3 separate regions of the Homo sapiens genome follow, and all the other regions are linked to region 1. The links are contacts of gene promoters, found by promoter capture Hi-C in blood cells and fetal thymus (Javierre and others, 2016). All regions are on one chromosome and are shown on one strand. Each heading gives the region's core, a stretch centred on a gene start or on the middle of the fragment in contact. The rest is flanking DNA. Distances are from core to core; before and after follow the strand shown.

Evidence for each region. The method cuts DNA at HindIII sites, captures the fragments that hold promoters and counts their contacts. A CHiCAGO score of 5 or more calls a contact.
Region 2: a fragment that was not itself captured here is called in contact with the fragment with the promoter of CD5 in region 1 in 1 of 17 cell types (fetal thymus); the score reaches 5.5 in fetal thymus.
Region 3: a fragment that was not itself captured here is called in contact with the fragment with the promoter of CD5 in region 1 in 2 of 17 cell types (fetal thymus and total CD4 T cells); the score reaches 6.7 in fetal thymus.

The regions. Positions count from the first base shown.
Region 1 is chr11:61,101,178-61,103,887 of GRCh38, reverse strand. CD5 (CD5 molecule) reads right to left here and starts at 1,399. Exons shown (of 11, transcript NM_014207.4): 1 at 1,273-1,399. The coding sequence starts at 1,327. The HindIII fragment of the contact is 6,487 bases long and covers 1-2,710 here.
Region 2 is chr11:60,769,437-60,772,146 of GRCh38, reverse strand. MS4A15 (membrane spanning 4-domains A15) reads right to left here. Exons shown (of 7, transcript NM_001098835.2): 4 at 800-856. Among named protein-coding and RNA genes, the nearest start is that of MS4A15, 14 kb to the right of the region's middle. The HindIII fragment of the contact is 3,389 bases long and covers 1-2,710 here.
Region 3 is chr11:60,825,097-60,827,806 of GRCh38, reverse strand. All of the region lies in intron 2 of LOC105369322 (a long non-coding RNA gene), which reads left to right. Among named protein-coding and RNA genes, the nearest start is that of CCDC86, 16 kb to the left of the region's middle. The HindIII fragment of the contact is 2,594 bases long and covers 48-2,641 here.

The DNA of each region.
Region 1 (2,710 bases), core at 150-2,649:
AGAGACTCACACACAGACTCACACACAGACTCACACATTCCCCCCCACACAGTACTCACACACATGCCCAGAGACTCACACACAGACTCACACATTCCCCCCCAGACAGTACTCACACACATGCCCAGAGACTCACACACAGACTCACACACAGACTCACACATTCCCCTACACACAGTACTCACACACATGCCCAGAGACTCACACACAGACTCACACACAGAGTCACACATTACCCCCCAACACAGTTCTCACACACGTACACACAGACTCACACAGACACACATAGACTCACACATTCCCCCACACACAGTTCTCACACACATGCACACAGACACACACACATGCATTCCCCCACACTCACACCTGCACACCCGGTTTCCCTAGAAGGCTGCTGAGGCTCCCTGCTCAGGCAGGCAAGGCCTCCGGACCCTCTCCCTGCCAGCCTGGAAGCTGCTCGCATCCTCCTGTTTCCAGCCCAGAGTCACGCACCTCTGTCACCCTGCCAGACCTTCTAAATCCTCAGGAAGTGGGTCAGGCCTCATCCAGTTCACACCCCCAACCCCCACATTTCATAAATGGGGAGATCAAGGCCTGGAGAGGCTTGGGGACCTATCCGAGGTCACACAGGGTTGGGCTTACAACCCAGGGCTGGAGTGAGAGCAGGCCCAGCGTGTACTCATCCCAGCCGGCCTGGCTGGGCCCCTCTGGGACTGACCCAGGACTGGGCATGAGAGGGCCTAGGACTTCCGCTATGAGTCCTTGACATTTGCTCAGACATCGTCCTCAGAGGCGGCTCCACCCTGCCTCGGCCCACTGTCTGTCCAGAGCATCATCAGAGCTGCCTCGGAGACGGCGAGTTTCCATGTCTCTGGAGGCGACCAAGTAAAGGCTGGGCTGTCAGTGGGGGACCTCGCAGAGGGAGGCCTGAATGCTCTGCTAAAATCCAACTCAGCCTAGGAATCAAGTTGTCTGGGCCCCATCAAATGCGGGTCCCCCCTGCAGTCTCTCTTGCACTGGAAGGGTAAAGCAGGGTTCTCAACAGCGCATGAGAGAGGCAAGGTTGTGCTCCTGGCGGGTGGGACATGCAGGACAGAGGGCCAAGCTGCGGCTTAGTGGGGGCAGGCAGGGATCCCAGTGGCCCCAAATCTCCACAACGCTCCAGAGGGCTGACATGTGGATCCCAGAGTCAGCCTTGGGTAAAACTGGGAACTCCTTCCTTGCACTGGAGCGAGCCCGGGTGTTCGCAGGACACCTGGGAGGGGTACTCACCCAGCATCCCCAGCAGGTACAAGGTGGCCAGCGGTTGCAGAGACCCCATGGGCATGGTTTCTGGCCTTCTCTTGCCTCAGCCTGGGCAGCTGGGCACCGCAGGTGAGGGTGTCTGGCCGGGTATCTCGCTCTCAGAGAGGGAGAGGGCGGGGTGGCGTGCTCAGGGAGGGGTGGGACGGGGAGCAGGCAGTGTGGGGCCTGCGTCACCCATGTTTGAAGTTGAACTGTCAACTTCCTCCTGGCAAAACCACCTGCCCCTGTTTGAATGGCAGCCCTGGCCTCTGCCAGCTTCCTGCCCAAGGTACCCAGGGCTGGGGCAGTGCTCTCGGCCACCCCCACACAGGACAAGGCCATGCATCCTGGAGGGACAGGGCTGCAGGGGGTGGGGACCCTGAGCGGGGGTTACGGAGGCTGAAGGCCTGGCTGCAGCTGAGGGCTGGGCTGAGGACAGGCGTCCCTGAGGCAGGGGTCTGGGTGGGGAGAGGCGGGAAATGGGCAGCATGATGCCAGTTCTTGTTGCAGACTCCAGTGAAAGCCAAAACCAAACCCTCCATTCCCCCTTTGTGAGGGATGAGGTTGGAAGTTTGAGCTGACTTTCCACAGGTGGTGTTTTGCTAGCAAGTACAAGAGATGGCTGCGCCATGAATGCTGGGCTTGTGCCAGTGTGTGTGTGTGTGTGTGTGTGTGTGTGTGTGTGTGTGTGTAGAGAGAGAGAGATCTCCATGTTGACTTGTGTGATCTCTGTGTTGTGTGTGTCATCTCTGTGTTGTGTGATCTCCATGTTGAGGTGTATGTGTGAGCTCCATGTTGAGTGTGTGTGATCTCCATGTTGATGTGTGTGTGAACTCCATGTTGATGTGTGTGTAATCTCCATGTTGACGTGTGTGATTTCTGTGTTGTGTGTGATCTCCATGTTGATGTGTGTGATTGTGATCGCCATGTTGATGTGTGTGTGATCTCCATGTTGATGTGTGTGTGTGATCTCCATGTTGATATGTGTGTGTGATTTCCATGTTGTGTGTTTGTGATTTCCATGTTGATGTGTGTGTATGATCTCCATGTTGACTTGTGTGATCTCTGTGTTGTGTGTGTGATCTCCATGTTGGGGTTGATGTGTGTGTAATCCCCATTTGATATATGTGTGTGTGATCTCCATGTTTGTGTGTGTGAATGTGATCTCCATGTTGATGTGTGTGAATGTGATCTCCATGTTGACGTGTGTGTGTGATCTCCATGTTGATGTGTGTGTGTGATCTCCATGTTGATGTGTGTGAATGTGATCTCCATGTTGATGTGTGTGTAATCTCCATGTTGATGTGTGTGTGTGATCTCCATGTTGATGTGTGTTTGTGATCTCCATGTTGATGTGTGTGAATGTGATCTCCATGTTGATGTGTGTGTGATCTCCATGTTGATGTGTGTGTGTGATCTCCATGTG
Region 2 (2,710 bases), core at 56-2,555, 330 kb after region 1:
CCTCTGAACTGTGAAGACTCGGTTCCGTGATACCTGCTCAGGGACTCCAGACCGTCCCAGCTGAGCTTAGAATGACTCATATTATCCTGCCTGCTTCCTTTCAGCACTTCTCATGCTTGGCAACCATCTTTGTTAGTTTGCTTTACGGGTGTCTACAAGGCACCAGAAGATAAATGCCATGACCTTCACTGCTATGTTCATGACCTTCGCTGCCGTGTTCATGATCTTCATTGCCGTGTTCTCTGAGCCTGACATAAAGCTCATACCCTCCTGTTCAAAGCCTCCATCGCCTCCCAGTGCCTGCAGAAGGCACCAAGCCCTCCACAATCCAGCCCCATCATGGGATTAAATCTCTCTGTCTGATTTCTTTCCACTTTCCTTCTCCTACCTTTGCCTTCGTTGGATGGAGCCAGGCGTGGTTTCAGTGGCGACCCTGCCCACACTCCTCCGTGCATTCTCCAGCTTTCCCTGTGGTATTTCTAAGTCCTCTCTGCTCACCAAGGCCCAGCAGGACTCTTACAGGAGATCTTCTAGCATCTTTCCTTTCTCGGAATGACCATGAGCATGGACCTCACTTTCCACCCTGGCTTGTGTATTGAAAGAGTATCCCTGTCTTCTTCTCCTGGACATGCACAGTCTGCGTCTGGTCTGCCTGGGTGGTGCCCCTCCCCTGGCACTTTGCAGGTCCCCTGAAGTGCTGGGGAATGAGCTGAAGGAGTGAGTGGATGGGAGGGGCAGGGTAGAGTGAGATTTAGCTGTGGCTTCATCCCCGCCCCTGGGTCCCCCTGTTCACACTCACCAGGCAACTGGTGTGGTTCTTCTCGGCTGCCACTGAGAGGGATCCGGAGATGATGAACTGTATGGGGAGAGGGGACCAGGTGAGGCCTCAGCCAGGACCCTGGGCAGGGCAGACCCTGCTTGGGATCTGTCAAGAGGTGCCAGGGAGAGACAACAGCCTCCTGATGCCACTTTCTCTGCCAGGCAGGCACCTTGGGGTCTCTCGGCAGGGGTGTCCCCTGTCCAGAGAACTAGGGCTGTGGCTTACAAGGTGAGTGTTTTCATTGACGTCATATCATCAGGGCCTCATGGGGAAGGCATTGTTCCTTCAAACATTCACTCATCAAACATTTACTGAGTGAGGCTGAACTGAGTGAGCTCATGCCTGTAATCCCAGAAGTTTGGGAGGCCGAGGTGGGAGGATCTCTTGAAGTCAAGAGTTCAAGACCAGCCTGGCCAACATGGTGAAACTCCAGTCTCTACTAAAAATACAAAAATGAGCTGGGCAGAGTGGCGTGCACCTGTAATCCCACCTACTCGGGAGGCTAAGGAGCAAGGATCACTTGAACCTGGGAGGCGGAGGTTGCAGTGAGCCAAGATAGTGCCACTGCACTCCAGCCTGGGGGACAGAGTGAGACTCTGTCTCAAAACAAAAAACAGAAAAACCAAATATTTTCTGAGTGGCAGTTATGTGCCAGGAACATAACAGAGTTGAATAAGGCAGACCAGATCTCTGCCCTCAAGGAGCTTTTTTTTTTTTATTTTATTTTCTAAGATGGAGTCTTGCTCTGTCACACAGGCTGGAGTGCAGTGGCATGATCTCGGCTCACTGCAACCTCCGCCTCCCGGGTTCAAGTGATTCTCCTGCCCCAGCCTCCCAAGTAGCTGGGACTACAGACGCCCGCCACCACACCCAGCTAATTTTGGTATTTTTAGGAGAGACGGGGTTTCACCATATTGGTCAGGCTGGTCTTGAACTCCTGACCTCGTGATCCACCTGACTTGGCCTCCCAAAGTGCTGGGATTACAGTCATCAGCCACCGTGCCCGGCCGGAACTTATATTCTAATTGGGGAAGACTGACACTTAGCAAACAGTGAAGAAAAGTACAGACAGTGGTGCTAAGAGCTGTGATGAAGTCATAGCGGTCACTGGGGCTACTCGAGGTTGGGTGGGTGTCAGGGTTGTCTCTGTGAGCTGGGATGACAACAGCCGGGCACGAGGCTATCCATAAGGATAGCCCAGGGACCTGCATCATGGCACCTATGTACTTGGCAGTCGCCTGACACACTGAGGTGGGGCTGGCCCTGCGTCTGCCGAGCTGAGAGGGTGGAGCTGAGCAGTGCTGCGCCACTCTGGGCCTGCAGCTTAGCAGGTCTGCAATTTGCAGGGGGCACTCAGCTGCCATGCTGGGGAGACCGCAGGGTCAGCGGTGGGTGGAGGAGGCCCTGGGGTGACACGGAGACAGAGGACCAGGAATGAGTCACTACAGGTCTCAAGCAGGTGTAGCTCAGCATGGTGGCCATGGGGGTGGGAAGAAGCGGACACACTCAGGCTATGCTCTGGAGGGTGATCCGGCGCGACCTGCTGCTGGGGTGGATGCGCAGCAGGGAAAGAAGATTCTAGGACAATTCTTGGGATATGTTTAGCTTTGGCAGTTGGGTGGCTGGAGGTGCCATTTGCTGAGATGAGGAGGTGATAGGAGGGATAGGGCTGGGGACAAGCCTATGGCAGGAATCAAGAGTTTCATTTTGATATACTGAGTTGCCTTTTCAGCATCAAGCGGAGTTGTCAAGAGGGCAGCTGGGTTTAGAATCCGGCTCTCTGGGCTGGAGACAGGCATGATGTCTTATTGATGAGAAAGTCAAGCCCCAGAGACAGGCAGCAACTTGCCCAGGTTCATACAGAGAAGGAGGCCTGGCTGCACCCGCATG
Region 3 (2,710 bases), core at 95-2,594, 280 kb after region 1:
TCAGTCTGCAGATTCTGACCAAGGAGATGGATAAAAGAAGGGAAGCTTTCTAGAAGGGGAGTGACCTGTCATCTAGTGAGCACCTGTTACGTGCTTATTTTAATCTTAGTTGCCTTATTAGATAGCTACTCTGATTAGCCCCATTTCACAGAGGATGAAACAGAGGTTCAGAAAAATTGAGGTACTTGTCCAAAGCCACACAGCTGGTATGTGAAAGCTGGGATTCAGACCCATCCAATTCCAAGACCCATGTGGTCAACCATTCAGACTGACACCCATCAGCAAAAAAGTACAGAAAGGTCAAGTAAGAAAATACATGGAAAAGCATGTATTTGGCAGTAAGCTACTGGCGGCTGCCCTGAGAGGGCTTGAGGTCTGTAGAGACGGGAGAGGAGGAGATGGAGTCCGTAGGAGATTGTTGCTGTGAAAGGGAAGAGAGGGGAGACCACAGTCAGAGAGGGACACGGGGTCTCCGGGACTTGAGTTTCTGGACCAGAGGAGAGGGAGAGGCATGGATGGAGGAGAGAGCAGCTAGGGAAGGTGAACACAGTGGACTAGGGTCGTGGGGGCCTAGGAGGAATGATTTGTCCTCTACTGATAAGGAAAGCACAGAGAGGGGCTGGGTGAAGATCAGTTTCACGTGAGGTCACGGGCAGGAAGTTGAGTCTTGGGGCCGTTCAGGGACCCCAGGCTACAGGGGAAGGTCGGGGATTCTGGGGCAGCTGGGTCACTGAAGTGGTCAAAGTGTGGGCAGCAGTGGGCAGTGTGTCCCTCGCCCCTGCATGGTGTGTCAGACCCACCTGAAGAGAGTGTTTCTCCTTTCCTCTCTTTCCCTAGGATGAGAGCAGAGGAAACTCCTCCCCCAGTATTCCCAGCCCCATTTTTGCCACGTCCAGGTCCCTGGTAGCAATCTCATGACATAATCACATGTCTTTGAAAAGATGTGACCTCAATGGCCACAGCCAGAAGGCAGGACTCACTGATAAATCTTAGGTATTATTATGCTGGCAGTCCTCCTAATGCACCCTTGACCTCTATGCTCTTACAGGGGAACGTCCTTGGTAGGAGGCAAGCAGCTGGAATATCTTCCTCCAAGCAAATGATTATTATTTTTTTTAAGAAACAGGGGCTCACTCTGTTACCCAGGCTGGAGTGCAGTGGCATGATTATAACTCACCGCAGCCTTGAACTCATGGGCTCAAGCAATCCTCCCACTTCAGCCTTCCAAGTAGCTGGGACTACAGGCCTGCACCAACATACCTGGCTAATTTTTTTCAAAAAAATATTTTTGGTTGAGAGTGGGCCTCACCATGTTTCTCAGGCTAGTCTCAAACTCCTGGGTTCAAGCGATCCTCCCGCCTTGGCCTCCTAAAGAGCCACCACATCAGCATTAACACAGGAAAAACTAGTCCAGAGGGAAGTACCTGGGGCTGTCAAATCCTGGTGGAGTTCTGCCTCAGGGAATCTGGAGGTAATTGCTAAACACTTAAACCCTACTCCCAAAAGCTGGGTGTCATGGTACCTGCCTGGAGTCCCAGCCACTCAGGAGGCTTAGGCAGGAGAATCGCTGGAGCCCAGGAGTTTGAGGACAGCATGAGCAAGTTAGCGAGGCTCTGTCTGTATTTAAAGAAAAAAAAAATCCCACTCCCCATTTTAACTTTGACAATAGAGGATAAGAAAATATCTCTTGGTGGTGGTTTCTAGGATTAAATGGTGCCCAAAGAGTGGATGCTTATTCTCTGGGCCTGAGACACTGATCTGGGTATAGTTGTTGCTGGCAGCCAGCTCAACCATGAAGGCACACACCCCGAGGCTGGCACACAGTGAGCTGACCAGGTTTGGCCCTGTGCTGACCTTCACCTGCTAAGGAGACCGGAGCCCGAGTTACTACCCAGCGGGAAGGGGAGAGTGCTGGCTCACATGCCCTCTGTGTTGCGGGCTTCCTTTGCACGCTTTTGATCCTGGAGGAACCACTGACTTGCCCTAGGAGCCAGGAACCAGTGACCAAGGTGACAGCATCTCTGCTCCACCTGCTGGAGCCCATGGGCCACAGAGGCTATGTCAGCCTTAATAGCCAGGAGATGGATTTGTTGCAGGAGCACAGACAGCAACATGTGTGGCCACTTCTTCCTGCAAAGTCCATGGCAGACAACATCCATCAATCCTCAGAACCCACCAGGGCCGCATCGATAGAAAAGCTATTTGCCATCTTTTGTGGGTTGAATTGTATCCCCCCAAAAGATATGTTGAAGTCTTAACCCTGGTACCTGTGAATGGGATCTATTTGGAAATAGGGTCTTTGCAGATGTAATCGAGTTAAGATGAGGTCATAATGGATTATGACTGGTGTCCTTAGAAGAAGGGAAGGGACACAGGGAGAACAGCCCCTGATGACAGAGGCAGAGACTGGCAGGATGTGTCTACGAGCCAAGGAACACCAAGAGTTGCCAGCAACCACTGGAAGCTGGGACGAGGCCAGAAAGCATTATCCCCAAGAGCCTTCAGAGAGAACTCGATCCTGCCAGCACCTTGACTTTGGGCTTCCAGCCTCCAGAATCATAGACTACAGGTTTCTGTTTTCTTTCTTTTTTTTTTTTTTCTTGAGATGGAGTCTCACTCTTGCCCAGGCACGATCTAAGCTTACTGCAACCTCTGCCTCCTGGGCTTAAGCAATTCTCCTGCCTCAGTCTCCCGAGTAGCTGGGATTACA